2 separate regions of the Homo sapiens genome follow, and region 1 is linked to region 2. Evidence: promoter capture Hi-C in 16 types of primary human blood cells and fetal thymus (Javierre and others, 2016). All regions are on one chromosome and are shown on one strand. The core of a region is centred on a gene start or on the middle of the fragment in contact, and the rest is flanking DNA. Distances in the headings are between cores, read along the strand shown.

What was found. The method cuts DNA at HindIII sites, captures the fragments that hold promoters and counts their contacts. A CHiCAGO score of 5 or more calls a contact.
Region 1: a fragment that was not itself captured here is called in contact with the fragment with the promoter of ST3GAL5 in region 2 in 1 of 17 cell types (fetal thymus); the score reaches 5.9 in fetal thymus.

What each region holds. Positions count from the first base shown.
Region 1 is chr2:86,196,250-86,201,692 of GRCh38, reverse strand. MRPL35 (mitochondrial ribosomal protein L35) reads right to left here and starts at 2,236. Exons shown (of 4, transcript NM_016622.4): 1 at 2,160-2,236. The coding sequence starts at 2,202. RefSeq lists an enhancer at 2,148-2,417. The HindIII fragment of the contact is 272 bases long and covers 1,420-1,691 here.
Region 2 is chr2:85,886,544-85,891,919 of GRCh38, reverse strand. It overlaps ST3GAL5 (ST3 beta-galactoside alpha-2,3-sialyltransferase 5), which reads left to right and starts at 2,930. Exons shown (of 7, transcript NM_003896.4): 1 at 2,930-3,096. The coding sequence starts at 3,015. It overlaps ST3GAL5-AS1 (ST3GAL5 antisense RNA 1), which reads right to left and starts at 2,640. Exons shown (of 3, transcript NR_110569.1): 1 at 2,117-2,640; 2 at 715-744; 3 at 1-229. RefSeq lists silencers at 2,529-3,148, 3,189-3,308 and enhancers at 3,479-3,558, 3,250-3,750, 4,089-4,218, 4,229-4,348. The HindIII fragment of the contact is 797 bases long and covers 2,628-3,424 here.

The sequences.
Region 1 (5,443 bases), core at 306-2,805, 310 kb before region 2:
TAAATTGTTAAAAAGGCTATAATTTCCAGCATATTTAAAATACTGACATTTTAAAATAAGCTGTCACATCACTCTTTAAATTGTTTTCAGTAGAATCTAAATTAATAGTAAGTTGATAACTACCTACATCATCTATTTAAAAATTACAAGAACTATAAATTCAAGTAGATGAAAAACAACTTTTCGTCAAAGGGCACTCCAAAATAATGTAAAAAAGACAAGCCTGAGTGGGAGAAGCTAAAGGACACACACAAATGAAAAACAAAAACAAAACAAAAAATACTCTAAATAAATAAGACAAACAATCCAATAGGAAAATGGGCAAAATATTTAAGTGGATATTTCATAAAGGAAATTCAAAAGGCCAATAAAAATGTGAAACACACTATAGCTTGTTATTAATCAGAGAAATGCTTATTTAAATCTCAATGAGATACCATTACAAAGCCACCAGATTAACAAAAATTTGTAGGTCTGACAATATCTATTGACAATATCAATATCAGGTGTTGGTGAGGATGTGGGGCCTCAACAGTTTGGCAATATCAGGCAATGCTGAATATATACATATTCTCTGACCAGGCAATTCCACAGCGATTTTCACACATACCCACATCCTCAGAAACAATTGGACTCATGCGCCAGGATGAGATCAATCAGCTTTGTACATAATTGCCCCAAACTGGAAATGGAGAATTGTGGCACAGTCATATAATATTATACAGCAGGCCGGGCAGGGTGGCTCACACCCGTAATCCCAGCACTTTGGGAGGTCGAGGCGGGCGGATCACCTGAGGTCAGGAGTTCCAGACTAGCCTGACCAACATGGAGAAACCCCAACTCTACTAAAAATACAAAATTAGCTGGGCGTGGTGGCGCATGCCTGTAATCCCAGCTACTCCAAGGGAATCACTTAAACCTGGGAGGAGGAGGTTGCAGTGAGCCCAGATCGTGCCATTGCACTCCAGCCTGGGCAACAAGAGAGAAACTCCGTCTCAAAAAAAAAAAAAGAATTATATAGCAATGAGAAAGCATTACAGCTACGCAAAATGAATGAATGAATCTCACAATGTAAAAGAAGATACTAAAGCGTATATACTGTATGAACCAATTCATGTGAAGTTCAAAACCAGGCAAAACTATGTTCTTGAGATGCACATATGGATGCTAAAACTACTATAGGAAAAATAGGCAACCTAATAGTAACTATAAAAATGAGAACAGTGTTTATATCTGGGGGGGAAGTAGAGAATTTTGATACATAGGGGAGAGGAGGCTTCTGGTAGTGCACTGTTTTGACCTGAGTGTTAAACAGGTGTTTGCTTTAGAACTGTTAAATCATTCATGCATACTATATAAAATTTTCTTCATATGTATTATATTTCGCGAACACAAAAAATACTCCACATAAAAAAAGCTTTTCTCTAACGGTAAAATTTACATCGCTGCATTTTCTTGACTGATCTCGTATATTCTCCCACAAAATGTTATCCTAACAATATATTTTGTGTGAAAGTAACTTACTGAGCATCCTATGGTATTTGGATGATTTTTAACTTTTTGCAAAAAGTACTTAACGTCACGGCAACTTAATTTAGTCGCCTTTACTTCTGCTATCTCTCAGTCAAGAAGTCCTCATACCAGCCCTTGTGCCGGGGGCTGTAGTTAAAAATTAAATTAGCCTTCAAGCTTACCATGTGTCAGGCACTGCCCAAAACGCTTTACGTGCATTATCTCATTTAATCCCCAGGTAGGTGGTTATGACCCCCATTTTAGAGGTGTAGAATCTTAAGTTAGGAGACATTAATTCTCAAGGTTAAAGGTCGTGAATGGCAGGTCGTAGCCTCTAAATCAGAAAGTTAGGTGAGACTTTTTGGTTTCCCTCGCCCCCTCCGTTCCAGTTTCTCTGGCTTCTTTTCTAGGGAAAAAAAGCTGGTAAGGAAGCGGCAAATGCGTGACACACAGGCCCGCGTGAGTCCGAGTCGGGGGACTTGGTACGGGCTGCCGGTCACACCGCCCCAGAGAAAATTGGGCGCAACCTTCTTAACTTAAATAATGACCCTTTTTGCTTGTTAACCTCCAGTCTAAACGCCCATTCCATCCCGCACCAGTTTCCCCTTCTGTGAAGGCATGCATGGAGTATGTCGCTCTCCACTGACCTGAAGCTGCTCTCACTGCACCAGCAAAGGCAGAGGCAGCCATCTTCACCTTCGCCTACGGCGGCCGCTTTGGGTTTAAAAGCACAAGAGCAAAAGAGAATGAAGGGAAAGCAAGGAGGCGGAGTCAAGGAAGAGGAAAAGAACAAAGTTGTCCACTCAACATTTATTCAATGTCATCTGCCGGGTTCCGTTCTTCGCCGCTGTAAAACGACTGCCTATAGAAGGTTCTACAAAATTTCTTATTAAAAAAAATTCTTGGGGCCGGGCACGGTGGCTCACGCCTGTAATCCCAGCACTTTGGGAGGCCGCGGCGGGCGGATCACAAGGTCAGGAGTTCGAGACCAGCCTGGCCAACATGATGAAACCCCCGTCTGTACTAAAAATACAAAAAGTAGCCGGGCTTGGGAGGCTGAGGCAGGAGAATCGCTTGAAACCGGAAGGCGGAGGTTGCAGTGAGCAGAGATCGTGCCACTGAACTCCAGTCTGGGCGAAAGAGCGAAACTCCATCTCAAAAAAAAAAAAAAAATTCTTGCCGGGCGCGGTGGCTCACGCCTGTAATCCCAGCACTTTGGGCGGCCGAGGCGGGCAGATCACGAGGTCAGGAGATTGAGACCATCCTGGCTAACAGGGTGAAACCCCGTCTCTACTAAGGGGTACAAAAAATTAGCCGGGCGTGGTGGCGCGCGCCTGTAGTTCCAGCTATTCGGGAGGCTGAGGCAGGAGAATCGCTTGAACTTGGGAGGCGGTTGTTGCAGCAAGCCAAGATTGAGCCACCGCACTCCAGCCTGGGGTACAGAGCAAGATATAGGGTGTATTACCTTGGAACACTATTGTTGCCAACTTGATCTCCCACCTATGGTGGCCACTTTGAGTCCAAAAACAGGCACATACGCTAGACAAGTATATTGAAACATTCATAAAAGCTCTTTGAATTGGCAACGGGAGTCATTGCGCACTTTTTTTTTTTTTTGAGACTAGGTCTTGGTCTGTTGCGAAGGCTTGAGTGCAGTGGTGCGATCACAGCTCACTGCAGCCTCGACCTCCTAGGCTCAAGCAATCCTCCCACCTAAGCCTCCTGAGTAGCTGAGACTACAGGCACACACCTGGCTAATTTTTAAATTTTTTGTAGAGACCTAGGTCTCACTATGTTGCCCAGGGTGGTCTCAATTATTTGGTATGGAATCAAACAGGTCTCCCACCTTGGCCTCCCAAAGTGCTGGGATTACAGGTGTGAGCCACTGAGCCTGGCCTCACTGCACATTTTTGAACAAGTGAGTGACTTGATTTAAATTTTGTTTTTTAGAGACAGGGTCTGAGTGCAGTGGTGCAATCACTGCAGCCTGGAATTCCTGAGCTCAAGGGATCCTCCCACCACAGCCTTCCAAGTAGCTGGCACCACAGGCATGCACAATCATCCCCTGCTAATTTAAAAAAATTGTTTATAGAGATGAGGTTTCACTTTTTTTTTTTTTTTTTTTTTTTTTTTTTTTTTTGGAGACAGACTCTCGCTCTGTTGCCCAGGCTGGAGTGCAGTGGTGCGATCTTGGCTCTCTGCAAGCTCCGCCTCCCGGGTTCACACCATTCTCCGCCTCAGCCTCCCAAGTAGCTGGGACTACAGGTGCCTGCCACCACACCCAGCTAATTTTTTGTATTATTATTATTTTTTTTAGTAGAGACGGGGTTTCACCGTGTTAGCCAGGATGGTCTCGATCTCCCGACCTCATGATCCGCCCGCCTCGGCCTCCCAAAGTGCTGGGAGAGGTCTCACTCTTTTGCTCAGGCAGGTCTCAAACTCCTGGGCTCAAGTGATCCTCCCACCTCAGTCTGCCAAAATGCCGGGATATGAGCCACCACACCCAGCCCCTGGTAACAAATTTTTTTTTTTTGAGACGGAGTTTCGCTTTGTCCCCCAGGCTGGAGTGCAGTGGTGTGATCTTGGCTCACTGCAACCTCTGCTTCCCAGGTTCAAGTGATTCTCCTTCTTCAGCTTCCCACATAGCTGGGATTACAGGCGCGCACCACCAAGCCTAGCTAATTTTTGTATTTTTAGTAGAGACGGGGTTTCACCATGTTGGCCAGGCTGGTCTCGAATTCCTGACCTCAGGTGATCCGCCCGCGTCAGCCTCCCAAAGTGCTGGGATTACAGGTGTGAGCCACAGCGCCTGGCCTGCCTGATAACATTTTAAAGCAAAAATATTGACAACTTCCAAGTGGAGAGTGAGGACTCTCCACGTAGGTTATGAGGGGTTGGGAGGCTAATTTTGAGGTTTGAGATCTTGAAGCTAGAGAGGTTGCTAATGATGTTCAGGCGCAAGTTGTGGCTGTGACGTACATGACTGAAGCAGGATGAAAACATTCACTGGCATTGACAAATTCAAAGCCAAGGGTGTTAGAAAAGTCATCACACGGGCACCACATGACTGAAGCAGGATGAAAGCGTTCACTGGCATTAAGAAGTTCAAAGACAAGGGTGTTAGAAAAGTCATCACACCGGCACCACTGGGCATGACAGCAGTGGGCAGGGAGGCAGCAATTCAATTGCTAAAATTACTAAAGAAAACGGGAGACTGCTCTGGAAGCTAAGTGAAAGAGATATGAAACATATGTAATTACTGTAGTCCCCTAAAAACCATAGAACATAGAACATATACAAACATAACTATTGCTTTCAGATAATTTTCAAGTCCATCTCTCCATGCTACAAGTCATAGCGCAGTCTACCTCTAGAGAGAATACATATTGTAATAAATTACCCAGTTAAGACTTGGAATACTTTGCAAATCCAATAGAAGATAGAAAAGTTAGTTTCCACGATATTGCAATAAGATGCTAATAGTATTAATACGAACATATTAATTCTGGAGTATACATGGAGTATTAATACCATGCTTAATATTTAACGTGTTTTATTTTGATTACAGAATCAATGGAATACTTTTGTTTTTTGAGACAGAGTTTCGCTCTTGTTGCCCAGGCTGGAGTGCAATGGCGTGATCTCGGCTCACTGCAACCTCCGCCTCCCGGGCTCAAGCAATTCTCCTGCCTCAGCCTCCCGAGTAGCTGGGATTACAGGCACCCGCCACCATGCCCAGCTAATTTTTTGTATTTTTAGTAAAGACGGGGTTTCACTATTTTGGCCAGGCTGGTCTCGAATTCCTGACCTCAGGCGATCCACCCGCCTTGGCCTCCCAAAGTGCTGGGATTACAGGCGTGAGTCATAGCTCCTGGCCCTACTTTTCTTTTTAAATTTTTTGTTTGTTTATTTTTCTATATAGAGACGAGGT
Region 2 (5,376 bases), core at 1,681-4,180:
AACCTGGGAGGTGGAGGTTGCAGTGAGCCATGATTGTACCATTGCACTCCAGCCTGGGTGGCAGAGCAAGACTCTGTCTCAAGTAAAAAATAAATAAATAAAATAATAATAATAATAAATCCATTGCATGTTAATATATATTGATAAAAAATAACTTCTTTTTTTTAGACAGAGTTTCGCTCTGTCACCCAGGCTAGAGTGCACTAGCGTGATCTCGGCTCACTGCAACCTCTGCCTCCTGGGTTCAAGCAATTTTCCTGCCTCAGCCTCCTGAGTAGCTGGGATTACAGGCACATGCCACCATGCCCAGCTAATTTTTTGTACTTTTAGCAGAGACAGGGTTTCACCATGTTGTCCAGGCTGGTCTCAAACTCCTGACCTCAAGTAATCTGCCCACCTCGGCTTCCCAAAGTGCTGGGATCACAGGTGCGAGCCACCATGCCCAGCCAAAAAATAACTGGTTTTGGCTGCATGCAGTGGCTCACATCTGTGATCCCAGCACTTTGGGAGGCCCAGGCAGGAGGAACACTTGAGCCTAGGAGTTTGAGGCCAGCCTGGGCAACAGAGGGAGACTGCTGTCTCTACAAAAAATTAGAAATTAGCCTGGCATGGTGTTGGGTACCTGTAGTTCCAGCTACTTGGGAGGCTGAGGTAGGAGGATTGCTTGAGCCCAGGAGGTGGAGGTTGCAGTGAGCCAAGATCGTGCCACTGCACTCCAGCTTGGATGACAGAGTGAATCTGTCTCTAAAAAAGAAAAAAAAAAAAACGCTGCTGTCCTGGATTTGTAAGTAGCCTGAGTGACTCTTTGCTAGTCACTATTCAGAAGCTTCTCTGAGATCAGCCACTGACTTGGAGAGATAACAGTAAGGCTTTGAGATCTAGAGGCTGATCTTAGTCTGCTGTTTGGAGATCTCTGCCTTAATCCAGAATAATAGCTGAGGATGTCTCTGTGGCTGATGAAGAAAAGGAAGTTTGCAGGCCTGCTTGTCTTGCTGCCCAAGTGGGTCAACCTAATGTGAGTGGAGTGAATGAGGTAGTAAGGGCTTAACAGATGTCTTGTGATTCTGGGACAGGAGGCAGCTTCAAGTTCCTTTTCTTCCTCACCCCCACCTTACACCCATCCTTGGAAGCTGGGATACTGCTGACTCTCATGGCAGCCATAACGCTATCAGCGCCTGGCTTTGCCGACAAGGGGAATCTGGAAGAGAAGGGGAAGGACAGGGGAGACAAAGAGAGGTAAAGAGTGTTGCATCAAGCACATGTGTCAGAAGTGTTCAAACCAGAGCGCCTCCATTTTGAGTGAGGGCTAGAAAAATGAGGCTGGGACTTGCTAGGCTGCATTTCCTGAAAGCTAGGCATTCCTAGCCTCTAGGTGTTTATGGTTAAGAGAACAAATTAATAATGCTTACTAAACAGACCCAGACTTGAGAGAGTCCAGATATCCCGATATCTGGAGAACAAAGGCATTCCTAATTTTGCTTTAAAAATAATAATATTGATTATTGCAAAATATAGTAATTAGGGAAAATTAATCCTTTATCACAAACCCTTGTAGCAGAAGACATCTGCCCATATATACAAGCATTACAAGCATTGTACCTTAGTTGGATATGTCCCTCCTCTTATTTTCAGGAATGCCCTGCTGGAGTGCAGTGGCGATCTCGGCTCACTGTAGCCTCTGCCTCCCGGGTTCAAGCGATTCTCCTGCCTCAGCCCCGTGAGTAGCTGAGACAACAGGCTTGCGCCACCACGCCCGGCCAATATTTGTATTTCTAGTAGAGACGGGGTTTTGCCATGTTGGCCAGCTGGTCTTGAACTCCTGACATCAGGTGATCTGTCCGTCTCAGCCTCCCAAAGTGCTGGGATTACGCGTGAGCCACTGTGCCCAGCCACCACTTTACTTTCTTAATAAACTTGCTTTTACTTTGCACTGTGGACTTACTCTGAATTGTTTCTTGCGTGAGATCGAAGAACCCTCTCTTGGGGTCTAGATCGGGACCCCTTTCCTGTAACACATGGGCCTTGGGCTGATCTCCAAGATTAAGAGGGCAAGATACTCAGCTGCAAGGGTCAGCTGTCGCTGACCCCAGCAGCTGCTCTGCCTTGGCCAACTTACCGGATTTAAATCGCCCAGTGACAGCTTTTCCTCCAGTATTTTCAAAATGCTCCCAATATCCTCACGTTAGAACAATCCAGAAATAGTCTTATGGTAAAACTCTTTTGGGAAATGTGAAAGTAGAGTCCTCCCACCTTTTCCTTTGCAACGCTTTTGCCCCAACCTCGATCGCCCAGGCAGCACATTTTTTCCGGCACCCCCACCAAGGGAAGAACAGAGACATCTCCAAACCAGCTGCCCTGCGCCAAGCTGTTACAAAATAGAGCCACAAGTCTCCCGGTTTATGCAAACATATTTGGCTCGGTGTCTAGGATCTTCTTTTTCAAACTCAGAAGGAGATCACAGGCACACGGCCGCGGTGCTGTGTACGCCCCTCTGAAAGGAAGTTCTGCAAGTCGACCGACTTCACTGGCTTCACTGAAGTCCGGTCCGAAACCACCGGAAAGTTGCAGGCGCACAGTATACGTTCAGCTGTGTCCAAGAAATAACCTATCAATCACTGCCTTAAGCTTTGTTTCCTTCCTGAATTTTCTTATTTTCACGAATATTTATGCTTTCACAAACTGTATGTCATTTCCTCTCCAGAACCAAGGGGGGCTCGCCCCAGCCTGGCCCCCGCCCCGGGTGCGTCCCTGCAGGGGGCGCCCTGCTCTGGCAATGCCCACCGCACCGCAGGGCTGACTGGCCGCGCGCCCGGGGGCGGGGGCCGCCGCGGAGGCATCGTGCTCTCCGATTGGCCGTCCGCGTCCTCGTGACGTCAGACCCCGCCCACGCGCCCCTCCTCCGCATCTGAGCGGGGGAGCGGCGGCCCCCAGCTGAATGGGCGCGAGAGCGGCGCTGGGGGCGGGTGGGGGCGCGGGGTACCGGGCTGGCGGCCGGCCGGCGCCCCCTCATTAGTATGCGGACGAAGGCGGCGGGCTGCGCGGAGCGGCGTCCCCTGCAGCCGCGGACCGAGGCAGCGGCGGCACCTGCCGGCCGAGGTACGTGGCGCAGCCCCCTCCTCGGCGTCGCGGGGGCCCGCGGGCTGGGGGCTGCGGCGGCGACTTGTCTCTTCCCGGGCCGGCTGGGCGCGGCGTTTCCGCCTCGAACCCCGCGGGCAGCGCCCAGGGCACGACACCCTCAGGCGAGCCCGGCTGGGGCGCGGGCGGAGGGTCGTGGTCCCGGGCCGTGTGGACCGGGCGGGGGGTCCCACGCAGGTGTGTACGCGGTAGAGGGTGGGGCGGACCGCCGGGTGTCGGGTCCCGCCGCAGTGGCCCTTTCCCCGCCGCTTTCCGCTGCAGCTCGGGATTTAATTCATTGCTGGAAGCTTCGGAGTTAGCAGAGCCGAGTTAACTCGTTTTCCTGGGATGGGCTTAGGGAACCCCCTGCAAGGTTACTAGCAGCTCCTGAAACCTCTCTCTGCATCCATCGGGGAGGCGTGATGTGGGGCCGCTGGTAGAAATTTGCCGGTGACCTTCCCTGCACCCTCTCTGCAGCCAGCCTTGCGGAGAAGACAGGTTTTGGCGACCTTTTGATTTCTTCTGAATTGTAAGCCGTGGCTTGACGCGGGTGTGCATTCATTGTACGCCTTGCGTGTGTAAGTAACGCAGGGTTTTCCGAGAGCATCCCCGAGGAGCCCTGCCCTTGCCTCACACCCGCTTGGTGACCTTGGCAGACACTGATCCCCCTGTGGGGCTCGGGCTCATGGTCTCTCCTGAGAAGCTTACCCTGCCGATGGCCGAGGTCCCTTCCAGGCCCCGGGTTTTTCTAATCATAAAAAAATACGTTTACGAGGGTAGAGGATCCTGCAGAATCTCTAGCTGACTCGGAAGACGAATTTTATATCCTCATGTCTTAAGTCATGCATGCGGCTTTTGCTTAATTAGGCATCGTTCATTTGAAGGGGAAAATGGTTTTATGTGCTGCGCTTCATCTGGCACCAGTGGTTGCCTGCTCCTCGTGGCAGGGCCGTGCTGGGTGTCACAGAGAGGAAGGAGACTCATCTCCTGCCCTCTGGTGTTTAGCTGCCCTCCCCCGGGCTTATGGCTGCTAATCCTTTTCCACGGAAGGATACAGCTGCTGAAACTGTGGAAGAGGAATCCATTTCTGCTGCATGAAGGGGCACAGACTTGAATACAGTCAGGACAGGTTGTGGTTTCACTTGTGTAATCCTGAGAGCTTGACAGCTTCGAGGAGTGTCTAACATTGCTAGTAACAGAGCCTAGAAGCACCTGAATTCCAGCTGTCACTTGGAGAAGGAGAGATTCATACGAACTGCGAGAGCATATAACCAGCATGTCTTGAGTCTTTTACCCATGTGCCTGTTATATGGATGCTGCTGTTTTTGTAAGATGAAATGACCCTTGGATATTCTGGGTTATGATCAGCATTTCTTCGTCTAGGCGAGAAAAGAAACAGGTGAGATAGGAAGGCATGAAGGGGCTCATGGAAGAGAGAGGGCTGACAGGCAGAAATTTTGAGAGCTCACATTTACGACTATTTGGACAGTTCTTATAATTTTGGCATAAATTGTAAATTGTTGCATGTTATCAAAATAGATTGGTGATGAACGTTAAGGATATATCCGTGGCAGAATAAGAACACACTCTTTGTTCTTTGGTTTGCTCCTCTAGTTCTTCCCTGCTTGCCTTGTGGGACTATTTGCAGCAATGAGGGGAATTTATCTAGCAGGTTGGCCTCGGGAGGCAATGAATGAAAAGAGGTTGGTGAGTCCTCTGTGGGAGTCCATTCCAGGTCCTGGAGGGCTGAGGTGGGTGTCTTGGAGCCAGCAGTTTCTGGGAGAAGGGATAAAGCTCACCTTCCACACCCTCCTGGCTCCTGAGGAGCGATTTAATCCGCACTGCCTGTGGACACGATGGAGGACTGAGATCACTCCCGAAGGGCATGCTCCGTGGTTTTAGTCTGCTGGGAAGCTCTGGCAGAAGTAAAACAACTGGGAATATACACATGTTAATGATGCTCCAAGCTGCCTAACTGCTGAGGAAGGAAAAGCAAGGGCTGGATCAGTGTGGGTGGCATAAGTTAGCAAAGGCATCCAAAGTGGGGTGAATCACAGGCCTGGTGTGGGAGGAAACCATAAATATGACGGTGACACGCAGGCTCGCCCGGGAGACAGCCAGCTTAAGCACACGTGCAGAGGAGAAGCAAGTGAAATGCGTAAGGGAGCAGGAGAAAAATCAGCTTTGAGGCTTCAAGGACACTACCAGGCTTGTCTTACCTGGACACCAGACAGACAAAACTTTTTTTTCCTCTTTTTTTTT